5 separate regions of the Homo sapiens genome follow, and all the other regions are linked to region 4. Evidence: promoter capture Hi-C in 16 types of primary human blood cells and fetal thymus (Javierre and others, 2016). All regions are on one chromosome and are shown on one strand. The core of a region is centred on a gene start or on the middle of the fragment in contact, and the rest is flanking DNA. Distances in the headings are between cores, read along the strand shown. Region 1 overlaps CPSF7 (cleavage and polyadenylation specific factor 7). Region 2 overlaps CPSF7 (cleavage and polyadenylation specific factor 7). Region 3 has its middle 19 kb from the start of SDHAF2. Region 4 holds the start of CCDC86 (coiled-coil domain containing 86). Region 5 overlaps TMEM138 (transmembrane protein 138).

The links. Contacts are between HindIII fragments. The CHiCAGO score rates a contact against its expected background, and 5 or more counts as called.
Region 1: a contact is called between a fragment that was not itself captured here and the fragment with the promoter of CCDC86 in region 4, in 3 of 17 cell types (total CD8 T cells, naive CD4 T cells and non-activated CD4 T cells). The highest score is 5.9, in total CD8 T cells.
Region 2: a fragment that was not itself captured here is called in contact with the fragment with the promoter of CCDC86 in region 4 in 6 of 17 cell types (total CD4 T cells, total CD8 T cells, activated CD4 T cells and 3 more); the score reaches 8.7 in total CD4 T cells.
Region 3: a fragment that was not itself captured here is called in contact with the fragment with the promoter of CCDC86 in region 4 in 1 of 17 cell types (non-activated CD4 T cells); the score reaches 5.1 in non-activated CD4 T cells.
Region 5: a fragment that was not itself captured here is called in contact with the fragment with the promoter of CCDC86 in region 4 in 3 of 17 cell types (activated CD4 T cells, naive CD4 T cells and naive CD8 T cells); the score reaches 7.6 in activated CD4 T cells.

The regions. Positions count from the first base shown.
Region 1 is chr11:61,405,318-61,408,034 of GRCh38, forward strand. All of the region lies in intron 9 of CPSF7 (cleavage and polyadenylation specific factor 7), which reads right to left. Among named protein-coding and RNA genes, the nearest start is that of TMEM216, 14 kb to the left of the region's middle. The HindIII fragment of the contact is 9,423 bases long and covers 1-2,717 here.
Region 2 is chr11:61,424,046-61,426,745 of GRCh38, forward strand. The region is part of intron 2 of CPSF7 (cleavage and polyadenylation specific factor 7); the gene reads right to left. Among named protein-coding and RNA genes, the nearest start is that of CPSF7, 4.6 kb to the right of the region's middle. The HindIII fragment of the contact is 2,618 bases long and covers 60-2,677 here.
Region 3 is chr11:61,447,530-61,450,229 of GRCh38, forward strand. No RefSeq gene overlaps it. Among named protein-coding and RNA genes, the nearest start is that of SDHAF2, 19 kb to the left of the region's middle. The HindIII fragment of the contact is 2,574 bases long and covers 87-2,660 here.
Region 4 is chr11:60,840,761-60,843,460 of GRCh38, forward strand. CCDC86 (coiled-coil domain containing 86) reads left to right here and starts at 1,353. Exons shown (of 4, transcript NM_024098.4): 1 at 1,353-2,122. The coding sequence starts at 1,365. It overlaps CCDC86-AS1 (CCDC86 antisense RNA 1), which reads right to left. Exons shown (of 2, transcript NR_182293.1): 2 at 1,046-1,220. RefSeq lists enhancers at 443-1,642, 1,549-1,778. The HindIII fragment of the contact is 9,112 bases long and covers 1-2,700 here.
Region 5 is chr11:61,365,064-61,367,563 of GRCh38, forward strand. TMEM138 (transmembrane protein 138) reads left to right here. Exons shown (of 5, transcript NM_016464.5): 3 at 982-1,153. Among named protein-coding and RNA genes, the nearest start is that of TMEM138, 3.9 kb to the left of the region's middle. The HindIII fragment of the contact is 5,415 bases long and covers 1-2,500 here.

The DNA of each region.
Region 1 (2,717 bases), core at 218-2,717, 560 kb after region 4:
CAAACACAGCCCCAGAGGTTTTCCAAGTGTACTAAAACTCGAGATTTTAAGTCTTTCCTCGCATGACAGCCATAGGTGAGGAACCAGGAAACATACTAACACTAAGCAGGAGTCACGTGGCCAGGCCAGAACAGAAAGCAGAGCATGGAAGAAACCTAAATGCAGTTAAGAAGTTTTACCCAAAAGGGTCTATTAAGCCACCTGTCACATGGCCACCAAACAAAGTTCCTACTATACTCAGCACCTGTTCCAATGCTGCAATACCCATCTGCGGGTGGTGGTATGGTCAGTCTGAGCATATTAAACAGAATTAATAGCCAAAGGGAAAATGAGGAATTAGAATTTCTCCTAATGCCCAAACTGGCAACACAGCCTACGCACAAATGTTTACCTTTTATATAACTACTTCTGTAAAGTGGCCTTATAAAACCTAGAGGAGACATCTACGTCCTCCCTGATCCTTGTACACACCGAAATGACACTATTTTCAGCTTGGGTCCTCAGAATCTATATGGCCTAAGCCTTCCTGGCCTGTCTAAACACCTACGCAGGCTGGTATTTGTCCCATTTTCTCTAAGGGAAAACTGAAGCCCTCAGTGCACTCAATTACATACCATTAGGGCTTCTGAATCTTTGAATTCGATCCAAATTGAAGAGAAAGCTCAGTTTTCAATGGATAACGAGGACAGGAATGACGTGAGAATGACTATATTTCAAGTAGGATAATGTCCTAAAATAATGAGATAACTGACATAGTTGAGAACTACAAAAAGTTGAAGACACAGGTTGCAGAGGATAACTTGTACACCAAGAGAAGCAAGCCATAGCACTGAATTCTTAAATCTCCATGGCTACATTTTGGTGCCAATGTTGGAATGCAGGCAGAAATCAGAGATTCCTTCAAGTGGGCCAATTAGCCTTCAGGCCCCAGAACTGGGTCTTACGCCGAGAAAAGATGGACAAAGAAGGCTACTGTTCTATTGCTGCCTCTGGACAAAATGTACCTTTCACTCTCAGGGAACAGCTGTCATCATAGAATATAAATATGATTCATTTCTAACTAAAAGGTTGCTATAAATGAGGACCATGTACCATCTTCCCAACATGAAACTTCCTAAGCCATAACTTGGTCACTACAGATGGAATTAAGAGTCCTTAGGGTGAGAATGTAAGAAATTGACATTCTTGGGGTGCCTGATTCAGTTCTTTCAGACTATTATTCAGATGCAATAACCACTATATCAAACGGGTGACCAGGAAAAGTGAGGAAGTAGAAAACCTGCCTCAGAGTTAATTTTTCCCATCTTGTCATGGGCCTACACAAGTCAAATGACTGTTTTCTAGGCAATATTGTTACAGCATTTTCAAAGTTACCAAAAGAGAGTTATCCTCATAATGGGAGAAATAGTCTCATCTTATTTTATTTTTATTACTATTTTTTTTGAGACAGGGTCTTGCTCTATTGCCCAGGCTGGAGTGCAGTGGCACAAACATGGCTCACTGCAGCCTCTATCTCCCGGGCTCAAGTGATCCTCCCACCTAAGTGCCCCCAAGTAGCTGGGACTCCTCCTGCCTCAGCACCCCCAAGTAGCTGGGACTACAGGAGCACATCACCATGCCCAGCTAGTTTTGTATCTCTGGTAGAGACGAGTGTTTTGCCATGTTCCTCAGGCTGGTCCCTGAGCTCAAGCGATCTGCCCCTCTCGGCCTCCCAAAGTGTTGAAGTTACAGGCATGAGCCACTGTGCCTGGCCCCATTTTATAAGTGGAAGAAATAATGCAAAGTGACAGCTAAAGACTCAGGTTGAGATGTTTAATTCTCAAACTACTGCTGGATCAGTGGATCTCGCTGGTAATTTCCCTGTCATAAGGCTGTCAGGAGCAAAGCCATCAGGAATGGTGACATGCATTTATGTTCTAACTACTAAACTGAATGCAGCCCCAAAGACGACAGTGCATGCTCTGCACAGGTCAATCATCACCTTCCTGTTCACTCTTATCCCAGTCAGCTCCAAAAGACATACACTGTAGCCTACATGTGCTTTTCAACCCACAAGTAACACTAGCAACTGTGCAGACTCAAACAAGAAAAGGGAGTTAGGACTGGACCAAGACCAACTCTAATGCCTGCCCTCATGCCCACCTGAGACTGAATTAGGCCAAAGTTGTTTGTGGTCTCCATCTACAATAGCGTCTGCTTTTCCAGAGGATACATGGGCATCTCCCCAAACTCAACCTGTTGCAAAATCTAGAAAGAAGTACCTGGAGCCCACAGCCTAACTGTTGATTCTACATGAGTTAACCTAGATTTCAATGATGTTAAGCACTCTAGGATTTTGTGGAATAAATGAGTGGCTAACAACAGAGAACAGAGACAAAAAATATTAGTAATTTTTCATCTTTCCACTTACTTGTTTGGGAGAAGATAAAAACAATTCCTGGCTATAAATCTATTTAAGCTAATGGCCAAAGAACAAGACAGAGGGCAGTAGCCAAACCTAAAAGGAGTATTTTGGTTTTTAGTAGGTTGTCACTGGGCAAAATACTGCTAATTTTCCAACTATTTACATTCCAGCTACTGCTCATGAACTATAGGGGCTCACAGGTGGTGAGTTTCTTTGTCCTTCTTCATCCAGATATCGCCATCCCAAAGACACCAAAAAGAACTACTATTCTTTCCCCTCACCTTCCTTTTCAATTACCATTACTTTAGATCAA
Region 2 (2,700 bases), core at 119-2,618, 580 kb after region 4:
AGTAAACTTTTAGGGGGCAACTTAACAACAAGAAATTAGTGAGGCAAATAAGCACAGGAAGCTTGTTCCATGTAGTCAAATCCATCAAAAAGGATTGTGCATAAAAAGGGTCAGCATGTAAAGAATGAGGAGAGAAGCTAACACTGGAGAGGACAGGGTGGATAATAAAGTAAGGTGAGGTCAGCTAGGGCTAATGAGTGGGAAAACATTTTGTGTGTAAGTAATCACTATAAAATATTTCATAGCTGTTACGTCTCAAACTATCCCAACTCTATAGACAAATCACTCTTCTATTCATGTACCAGGTATGGTGAGTTGCTCCTGTGGTTCAAGGTAGAGAAAGGATTTATATACATCACTTGATCCCATCCAATGCTCAAATCCTTAGAAAGCACTACTTCACACCAAGATTCTTCTTTTTTTCTGAGATAGAGTCTCACTTTGTCACCCAGGTTGAAGTGCAGTGGCGCAATCTTGGCTCACTGCAACCTCCGCCTCCTGGGTTCAAGTGATTCTCCTGCCTCAGCCTCCCGAGCAGCTGGAATTACAGGTGTGCACCACCACACCCAGCTAATTTTTGTATTTTTAGTAGAGATGGGGTTTCACCATGTTGGCCAGGCTGGTCTCTAACTCCGGACCTCAGGTGATCCTCCCACCTCAGCCTCTCAAAGTGCTGGGATTACAGGCGTAAGCCACTGCACCCAGCCTTCTTTTTTTTTAAATCAAGGATTTTCAAATGACACGTAAACAGAATAAGGAAACACATCATCTTGGATAATCGAATGGAACCAAACTGAGATTCCCTTCCATGCAGTATCTGTAATTCAGGTATATGTGTCTAAAATTTGTAATGTAAAAATGATCACTGAAAATTGAGTAGTGGACTAACATGCAGATTTGGACAGCTCAGAGACCAAATGCATCACCAGGAAACCCTTCGTACTATATGCTTAGGCAACCAATCCACTGTTTTAAGATCCCTTAAGAATAGGATAGACTAGATCCTGGAGAATCTTGGTATGGCTACCACTTTTAGAAACAAAAGGATTGAATGAATACAAAATTATCACAAGATTTAAATGGTCTCTCTGGGCCACAGAGCCTCAGTTCAAAGAAGCTGGTGGGAACTGCACAGGGCAGGTCTGTTGAGGGTTCTACTGAAGAAACAAGGTATCAAATTGTTTGGATTTTAATCCCCCAGCATCACAATTCATTTTACTTGTTCAGCTAGTAAGACAGAAACACAGTTAAGGGCCGGAGATTTTTCTCAGCGGATTTATGCAGTAATAGATTAAAGTAAAATCAAATTCTACAAATTAAGTGAAAAGTACATTTTACATGCACTGATGTTCAAAGTTTCATTCCAGGGAGATTAAACATGAAACATATATTTAATACTGAATAACTATCTCAAAGAATTTTGTGTTTAATGGCACAGAAAGAACTGTGACTGTCTCATGAAACTTCCTGCTTCCCTGTAAACAAAAGAGAACATGTGTGATTTTCAATTTAAATAAGATCTTCTCCACTTGTCTGCTCAGTGTTCCTAACCTCCACCCTCTTCTTCCTCATATCCCACTGAGGGAAGTAACTAGCCTAGGATTTATTTTTCTCAGAGCAACCAACTTGATACCATTGTTTCTTTTAATTGTAACCAAGGCTTAATCAAAAATTTTGGCTTTATAATGACCATTTCCACAGTTCCCACTTCACACCCTCCTTGTCCTTCACTGTACATTGTCGTTGTCCACCACCCCTACCCACCAGGAGTGGAATCTGTTTTGAGTACAGGGACCCACTTTTTTTTCCTTTTACCTCACTAGTCCTGGCACAGTGCTTAGCAAACACAAGTAGCTCAATAAATAAATACTTATTGATGGACATAAGGAAGAGAACTGGACACTGTGCAAAGCCTGTCTCAGTATGAAAAGCCAAAACTCCCAGCAGAGCAACTGATCTCAGTCACCTTTCCAGAGTTCTCCCTGGCCCAAGAGAGCCAATGTGAATCCCAGGACTCCCTGTGTTACAGGAATAAAGTAGCTCTGGCAAAAACAGGCTTTTGCAGCAAATGCTCTAAGAGATCAGGGAATAAGCACCATAGGGTTCCATCTAGGAAAAATATTAATTTTCCTTGAGGAGCAAAGTGCACATGAAGGGCTTCCTGTGCATGGGCCAGCTTGGGGCGAAATCAGTAACATTCTTAAAACATTCTAAAACACAATTTGTACTGGGTGCCTTCAGACTAAGCCAGCTTCTAACAATTCTAGCCAAAGTTTTTTTGTTTTTTTGTTTTTTAAATAATTTCTGTAGCTTCCAGATGACACTAACACTAACTTTGTCAAAAATAACTAATTGATATGTGTGTGGGGGGGAAGCACTCATCCCTCACCTTCCACAAAACATAAGATATTCAAAATTCACACTTTCTTCAGCTTGCCTAGTGTCAAATATTGCCCGTTGGATATATGTATCTATTAAAGTCCACATACTACCTTTAGCCTGTCTTAGACCCATAAAAAAGTCCTTTTTAACTGAGGAGACCAGAGAACAAACTATTGAGGCCAATAACTTATACTCTAACAAAGCAGTGACCACTGGACAATGAGTTCTGCGTATTTCTCAAAGTGAAATGAATGGCACTATTATCAATCCACAGATAAGAAATTAGAAGGGGAAAAGCTTTTCATTAATAACAAAGGT
Region 3 (2,700 bases), core at 124-2,623, 610 kb after region 4:
GAGACATGACCTCTGTGTTACATGGTGGGTAGGAATCTGCCAGGTGCTTCGCCAAGTGAGTAGATCTGAACTTGATCACCCAGTGAAGCTTCTGTGAGGAAGCAGCGCAGTGCACTGGTTACACATTTAAATCCTGGCTCTGCTGCTTACCTGCTGGATACATGAATTGACCTGAGCCTCAGTTGCCTCATCTATAAAATGGGGATGACAATGCTTCCTGTCTCAGCTAGTTGATGAGATGAAACACACAAAGCTCTTACATGGTAACTTGCACAGTATGTACTCTAGATATGAATGTCAGCATTTAGTCATAGCCTCAGTCTGAGACTTAAAACCTGTCCCTAACACAAATTGCCTGGCATATCAATGAGGTCACCATAGCTACATCCAGGGTTTCTCATCTGCAGGTCAGAAAGCTGAGCCTATTAATAGAACCACAGAATGTCTTACCTCCCAGTGAAGACGAGAGAGAAAACAGACCCTGGTGACAAGACCTTTGATGGAAAAATCTAGCACTCTCCCCTAAGCAAGGAATGGAAGTGAGACTCGCAGAAGCAGGGCAGGCGAGGAAGGAGACGTCTCCCTGGGAGCTTGCTGAAGACTCTGGCTATTCTCTCGGGCTGCATTTATGTACCCTGGGGAGAATGTTAAGCAGGCCGGGAGTTTATATATAGACATAGATCTGGACTGTACGAAGTGCACATGAATTGGGCGGTGACTTACCCATTTATCCTTTGCACGTTATGCAACAAACCCCAGTAGCCAAGGATGTAGTTGGAACTTTTCTCCCCCTCGGGTTTGATCCCTTCTTATCCTGATTTTGTCTTATTTAACACAATGTTCAATTGCTGCCGCTTTCACCTGGGAATGGCATGCTTCTAGAGGAATTGTTTTCCTCCCAGGCTGCTGGATTGTGTCATCTTTGAAAGTGAAGGATCTTGCTAAGTTCACCTGCTCAGTTGTCAGGCCCAGGGATGCTATGTAAACAGTTTTTCCCTTTATTAGGCATTAAGTAAAACTAGGCCGGCCACAGTGCATTTTTTTAGGAATTAATAAACATATAGCAAGGGCCAGCAGCCCCCGAAGGATCGCTAATGCACAGAAGCTAGACTCATTCCTTTTACTTTGACACATCCCTGCTTACTGACCTCATTCAGAGCCTGTGTGGGGCATATGAGCGTCTGGCCCTGTCCTGACCGACTCAAGTGGTCTTGTGAGTCCTGCACAGGCTCTCCACGTGACACCTTAAATTGGGTCAGGAAAGGCTGTTCTCTTTCCATCGTTTCCTTTTAATCATCCTAAGTCTTAAAAATCCATAAGCCAAACACCTTGTGCTGGAGCTTTCTGTGCCTTAGACAGAGTGTGTCTTTTGGGGGTCATTGTAGAAGCACTCTTACTGGCTTTGAGTGTTATCTGGAGGTCATCTGGTATGTCTTCTGCTCCAGCCAGGGTGGCACCAATACAGACCTGGTTCATATTTTTAAACATCACTGGGAAAAGATTCCGATGGGATAGTTGGGGTCTCTCATTTATCCTTCAGTCCATCTGCAGCTATTTGTGGCTAGACAAAGAGAGGAAGGTTTAATGATAAGCTAAACAGCTGTAGATGGCAAGCAGGTCTGTGAGATTTTTGAGCTGACAGCCCCACTTAATAGTATGTTCTGTAGTATCTGAGGACAGTGGACTCACCATCCCGCAGCTATCAAGTTGATGACACTGATCAGTACCCAGTGAAACTAACTCCTGACACCTCAGTTTCCCAGTGAACCCTCTGGGAATGAGGAGTGGTGTTCGAATTTTCCTGTCAGGGAAGATGGCATTGGTGGGATAGGTGGCTTCAGGCCAGCAGTACTTTTTGTGGCTTAAGAAACAAGTGTTGTTAGCAGTTTGTTAGAGGGGTGGTAGAAAGTTTAAGCTATCCAGGACAACATCAGTCTTTAAAGGAGATGGGTAGATTTATCATCACCTATAGCTGCAAAAGAAGAGTTAAAAGCCTTTTGTTGGATCCCGGATCTCAGACCCCAGATACTCCTTTTTTTTTTTTTTTTTTTGAGACAGGGTCTCACTGTCACCCAGGCTGGAGTGCAGTGGCAGGATCTCCCCTCACTGCAAGCTCTGCCTGGGTTCAAGCGATTCCATGCCTCAGCCACCCTAGTAGCTGGGATTACAGGTGCACGCTACCATGCCTGGCCAATTTTTGTGTTTTTAGTAGAGACGGAGTTTCACCATGTTGGACAGACTGGTCTCGAACTACAGGCCTCATGTGATCCGCCTGCCTCAGCCTCCCAAAGTGCCAAATATTCCTTTCAAAAAGGAGAATGTTTCTTTAAGAAGGGGATTGTATAATCTGTCATGAGATTAGAGTATAAAAGGAAAAAAGTGGGGGAGGGTGGATATATCATTTTCTGTAACAACACATCACAGCATGGAACTTTCAGCAAGTGAGAACGTTAAGATGTACATTCTGTTTCTCAGTGGATTCAGGTGATTTGGCTAATATTTAATAAAATATTCTCCTCTGGTGATGCCCTGGAACACGTGTTTAGGGGAAATAGAACAGAGTAGTTAAGGGGAGCTGTTTAGGAATCAGGCCTAACCTAGAATCCTGGAGCTCCCATTGATTAGCTGGGTGACCTGAAACACATTATTTAACCTCTCCAAGCTTCTGTTTCTCATCTGTGGAAAGGAAAGAAAAGGAAC
Region 4 (2,700 bases), core at 103-2,602:
TGGAAGAGCTGGGCAAGGAGGTGTCCCGGCTGCTTCTGCTGTGGACAGCTGCATGGCCGGAGAGGAGCAGTGAGGCAGGCAAAGCCCCCCTGCAGGGGTCTCCTTGACTCAGGAACATGAGGAAGATGAGGACACTCTGATCCCTGATATTCTTGGACAATTTCCCAGGCCCTCTCACAAGCCCGCAGCTGGAGAAACAATGGTTTCTAAAAGAAACCACTGGAATGTCAGACGGGGCCCTGGGACCTTTAATGGCCAACCCCAGGCAGTTCCAAGAATTACACAACTGGGCCACTTCCAAGATGTTCTTCCTAAGAAGCATGCTGTAAGTAAATCAAAGCCCCACTCCTAGGTCTCACACGAAAGTCTCCACAGCCCCACATTCCCCAACCCCACATCCCGAGAGTCTTCTCTAGGCCTTGGGAGGTCCAGAAGTCAACACCTGCTCACTGGTGAGGTCCCAAAGTGCTTAGTAAGCAAAGTACATTTACAGGTGAATAGCAAGGGAAGGGAGGGGAGGCGAAGCAGGTTCACACACGAGCAAAAACCACTGTCTGGGCTGAAAGGAAGATCGGAGATGATCCAACCCGTTTCTAGAACTGGGGTAGAAGAAGAGGGACGTGGGAGGATATGCAGCTGGTCGAGGGCCCAGGTGAGCCACAGGACAAAGGTGGTGCATCTTATTGGTACCTCAACTTCCCTCACAAACGTTGAAAACGCTGAAAAGGGAGGGAGAGCTATGGATTATATACGGAAGCACAGGACGGAAGAATCAAGAGTGTGAACAATTAACACAGAAAAGACCGATCTTCCACCTCCAGGACCCCCAGGTAGCAGTCCCTCAGGTAGGTGGGAGGAGGACTCTGACAGGATCATTTGGGATGCACGAAGCTAGTGCAAAATGACCCCTATTACAAATGAGAAAACAGGCCCAAGGAGGGCAGGACTCTGCCCAACTGCACCGGAGTTGGCTGCAAAACATCCACTGGGCCTTGCCTATGGGCTCCTCGGACCTTTTTTCGACTCTGTTCTCTCCCTGAAATGGGTCCTCCCACTTTCCCTTTTCTACTTGCTCGCTCTTCTTTCCCCAGGAAACTTTGCAAGAAAGGCAAAAGCGAATCCCAGGAAAAAGACTGGCTCATCAATCACATGTTGACTGCGCTCGCGCGAATTGCGCATGCGCATGCTGAGCCCCACTCTCCCCAACCCCGGTCCCGCCTCTCCACCCCTCACCAACATGGCCGCCTCAGCAACAGCCCCCCTCCTGTGCGTCACGGACGCGGCGACTCCTGACGTCATAGGAAGGCGCCGGTTTCGGCGGGGGCTGCACGTGCGCAGGGGTGTGGAAACTTACCGGCTGAGCCATGGATACACCGTTAAGGCGCAGCCGACGGCTGGGAGGCCTAAGGCCCGAATCCCCCGAGAGCCTCACCTCAGTTTCGCGGACGAGACGGGCCCTTGTGGAGTTCGAGTCGAACCCAGAAGAAACGAGGGAGCCCGGGTCTCCTCCGAGTGTGCAGCGGGCTGGCCTGGGGTCCCCCGAAAGGCCGCCGAAGACAAGCCCAGGATCACCCCGTCTGCAGCAGGGTGCAGGCTTGGAGTCACCCCAAGGGCAGCCAGAGCCAGGCGCAGCGTCCCCCCAGCGTCAGCAAGACCTACACCTGGAGTCGCCTCAAAGACAGCCAGAGTACAGTCCTGAATCCCCACGATGTCAGCCGAAGCCAAGTGAGGAGGCACCAAAGTGTTCTCAGGACCAGGGAGTACTGGCCTCGGAGTTGGCCCAGAATAAGGAGGAGCTGACCCCGGGGGCCCCCCAGCATCAGCTACCGCCGGTCCCAGGATCACCAGAGCCTTACCCCGGTCAGCAAGCTCCCGGTCCGGAGCCCTCTCAGCCACTACTGGAGCTGACACCCAGGGCACCTGGCTCCCCCCGGGGTCAGCATGAGCCGAGCAAGCCACCTCCAGCTGGGGAGACGGTGACAGGCGGCTTCGGGGCAAAGAAGCGAAAAGGTTCTTCATCCCAGGCCCCAGCGTCCAAGAAGTTGAATAAAGAGGAGCTTCCTGTAATCCCGAAGGGGAAGCCCAAATCGGGGCGAGTGTGGAAGGACCGCTCCAAGAAAAGGTGAAGTGGGGGACAGCATGGACAGGGGTGGCGTTCTCTATGGTGTTGGGACCCCGCCTTTGCCCTGCTGCAGCCTGGAGAATAGCCCCAGGGTTAGAGAGAGCTCACGTTAGTGGGGATGTTAGCAAACAGGTAATTACAATCAGAATGTGGTAAAATGCCCTGGGATCCCGGAGAGGGTGGGGCCAGGCCCTCAAAGATCAATTTCTCTGATGCCTTTCCTCCTCAGGGTCCCTATGGGCCTCTCCTGTAGCACCTCAGGTCTGTATTCGTTCAACAGACATTTACCGTTGTCTGCCCTCTCTAGTGAGAGAAGCAGAAGCAAGTAAACCAGCCATTACTTGATCAAAGCAGTGAGGTCTTCATCCAATATAGTCTATTACAGTTATTTGCCTTTAAGATAAAAAGTATTACTGAGCACTGATTATATAAGGATTTACCAGTCAACAGCCTTAATAAGGATTTACCAGTCAACAGCCTTTCAAACATGGAACAGCATGTGTCATCACGCTTAATCTGCACGTCAGCCCTGTGAAGCAGGCGGTGTTATTATTCCTGTTTTTTGTGTGAGGAAACCA
Region 5 (2,500 bases), core at 1-2,500, 520 kb after region 4:
TGTAATCCCAGCTTCTTGGGAGGCTGAGGCAGGAGAATCACTTGAACCTGGGAGGCAGAGGTTGCAGTGAGCCATGATCATGCCACTGCACTCCAGCCTGGGCGACAGAACAAGACTCCATCTCAAAAAAAAAAAAATGTTTAAGAGTGTCAGATAGCCTGGGCAACATAGTGAGACCTTGTTTCTATTAAAACATAATTTTATTTTTTTTTTTTTGAGATGGAGTCTAGCTGTGTCGCCAGGCTGGAGTACAGTGGCACAATCTCAGCTCACTGCAACCTCCGCCCCCTGGGTTCAAGCAATTCTCCTGCCTCAGCCTCCCTAGTAGCTGGGATTATAGGTGTGCGCTACCACACCCCACTATGTATTTACCACACCCAGCTACTTTTTGTATTTTTAGTAGAGACGGGGTTTTGCCATGTTGGCCAGGCTGGTCTCAAACTCTTGACCTCAAGTGATCTGCCCACCTCGGCCTCCCAAAGTGCTGGGATTACAGGCATGAGCTAATTTTTTTTTTAATTAGCTGAGTATAGTGGCACACACCTGTGGTCACAGCTACTCAGGAGGGTGAGGCGGGAGGATCACTTGAGCCCAGGAAGTTGCTGCAGTGAGCTGTGATCATACCACTGCACTCCAGTCTGGGCAACAGAATGAAACCCTGTCTCGAAAAATAAGGAGTATCAGAGAATCTTCTATAGGACTATGTATGGAAGAAATTTTAAAAATAAAAAAGAGTATTAGAGCAGGAAAGCCTTGACTATGGACTGCAAACCCAACTGATGGGGCCAGTGGGTAATTTTAGGTAATTTTAGCTTCATGTCATTCAGGTCCCAAAACCCATGTTATCTCTGTGAGGGTTTAAGATGTCAGATGCCTATCTCACAACAAAGGACAGGCCTCGTGGTGTCCCTCAGGACATAGTACCTGCTCTTGGGTCCTCACACAGGCCTTCATTGGTTGTACTTTTTTTTATGTCTACAGCATCCAGGATATTGCAGTCCTCTTCAACATCATCATCATTTTCCTCATGTTCTTCAACACCTTCGTCTTCCAGGCTGGCCTGGTCAACCTCCTATTCCATAAGTTCAAAGGGACCATCATCCTGACAGCTGTGTACTTTGCCCTCAGCATCTCCCTTCATGTCTGGGTCATGGTAAGAGTGGCAGTCTGAATTCTTTTTTTAATTTTTATTTTAAATAGAGGTGGGGTCTTACTTTGTTACCAAGGCTGGTCTCAAACTCCTGAGCTCAAGCAATTCTCCTGCTTCTGCCTCCCAAGCTCAAGCAATTCTCCTGCTTCTGCCTCCCAAAGTGCTGGAATTACAGGCATGAGTCACTGTGCCCGGCCTGAACTCTGAATTCCTGAATCGCTAAAGGGCTAGGAATAACTTTTCTTTTCTTTTCTTTTCTTTTTTTTTTTTTTTGAGACAGAGTCTCGCTCTGTCGCCTGGCTGGAGTGCAGTGGCGTGATCTCAGCTCACTGCAACCTCCGCTTCCTGGGTTCAAGCAATTCTCCTCCCTCAGTCTCCTGAGTACCTGGGATTACAGGCACGCACCACCACGCCCAGCTAATTTTTGTGTTTTTAGTAGAGACTGGGTTTCACCATGTTGGCCGGGATGGTCTCAATCTCTTGACCTCGTGATCCTCCTGCCTCGGCCTCTGAAGTGCTAGGATTACAGGCGTGAGCTACTGCGCCCGGCCACTGGGATATCTTTTCTCTGGGAACCCAGCTTCATTCTTTGACATCTCACACAATCCTTCGTAGAGAACAGGTGAAATGAAAGTGGTTTGGGTTGGAGCCCTGGGCATGTGAGAGTTTCATAAGGTACTCTTGACCAACCTTATGTGTTGAAAAACAGCCTTGTCCAAGAGTCAGGGGACTCTTCCAGAACATTCAATTCACCTTTGCCCCAAACAGGCCTACCAGGGCTAAAACAGGTAGTTGAATGTGTCTCATCATTAGCTATTTGGGCAGGTGGATGTTGATACAGGTTATTCTTAGGCATCAGTGCCCCATGGCTAATGCTGTAGGCAGTGGATGTTTTTGGAAGTAGCCAAGCAGGATTGCTGCTTGCCCTTGAGTGCTCCATGCCGTCTGCCAAGCTCCCATCACTTTAACTAGGAGAACCGGCCTCCAGGATCCCTCCCTTTGGTTCTAACATAGGCCTCAGATCAGATCCAGTGTCTGTGGTTTCAGATTTCTTCTGCTTCACAAATTCTTCCAGCTCTTTGAGTATCTTGTATATTTCTCATGTACTCAATTCAATTGAACTCTAAAACCTCAGGGTTCTCTAGTTGTCACTTCATTATTAAAGCCACTTTCACACCTGAACCCCCTGTTAGGTTGTGCTTGTGATTCCACAGAAAGAAGTAGAGGTCCCAGGAAAGAAGCAAAGCAACACCAGAGTCTCCGGGTGCTTCCTGAAGAGGATTCTGTGCCCTGGTTCCTGGAGCCAAAATAGGTCCTGGCTTTGTACTATAAAAGCCGTTAATCTCATTA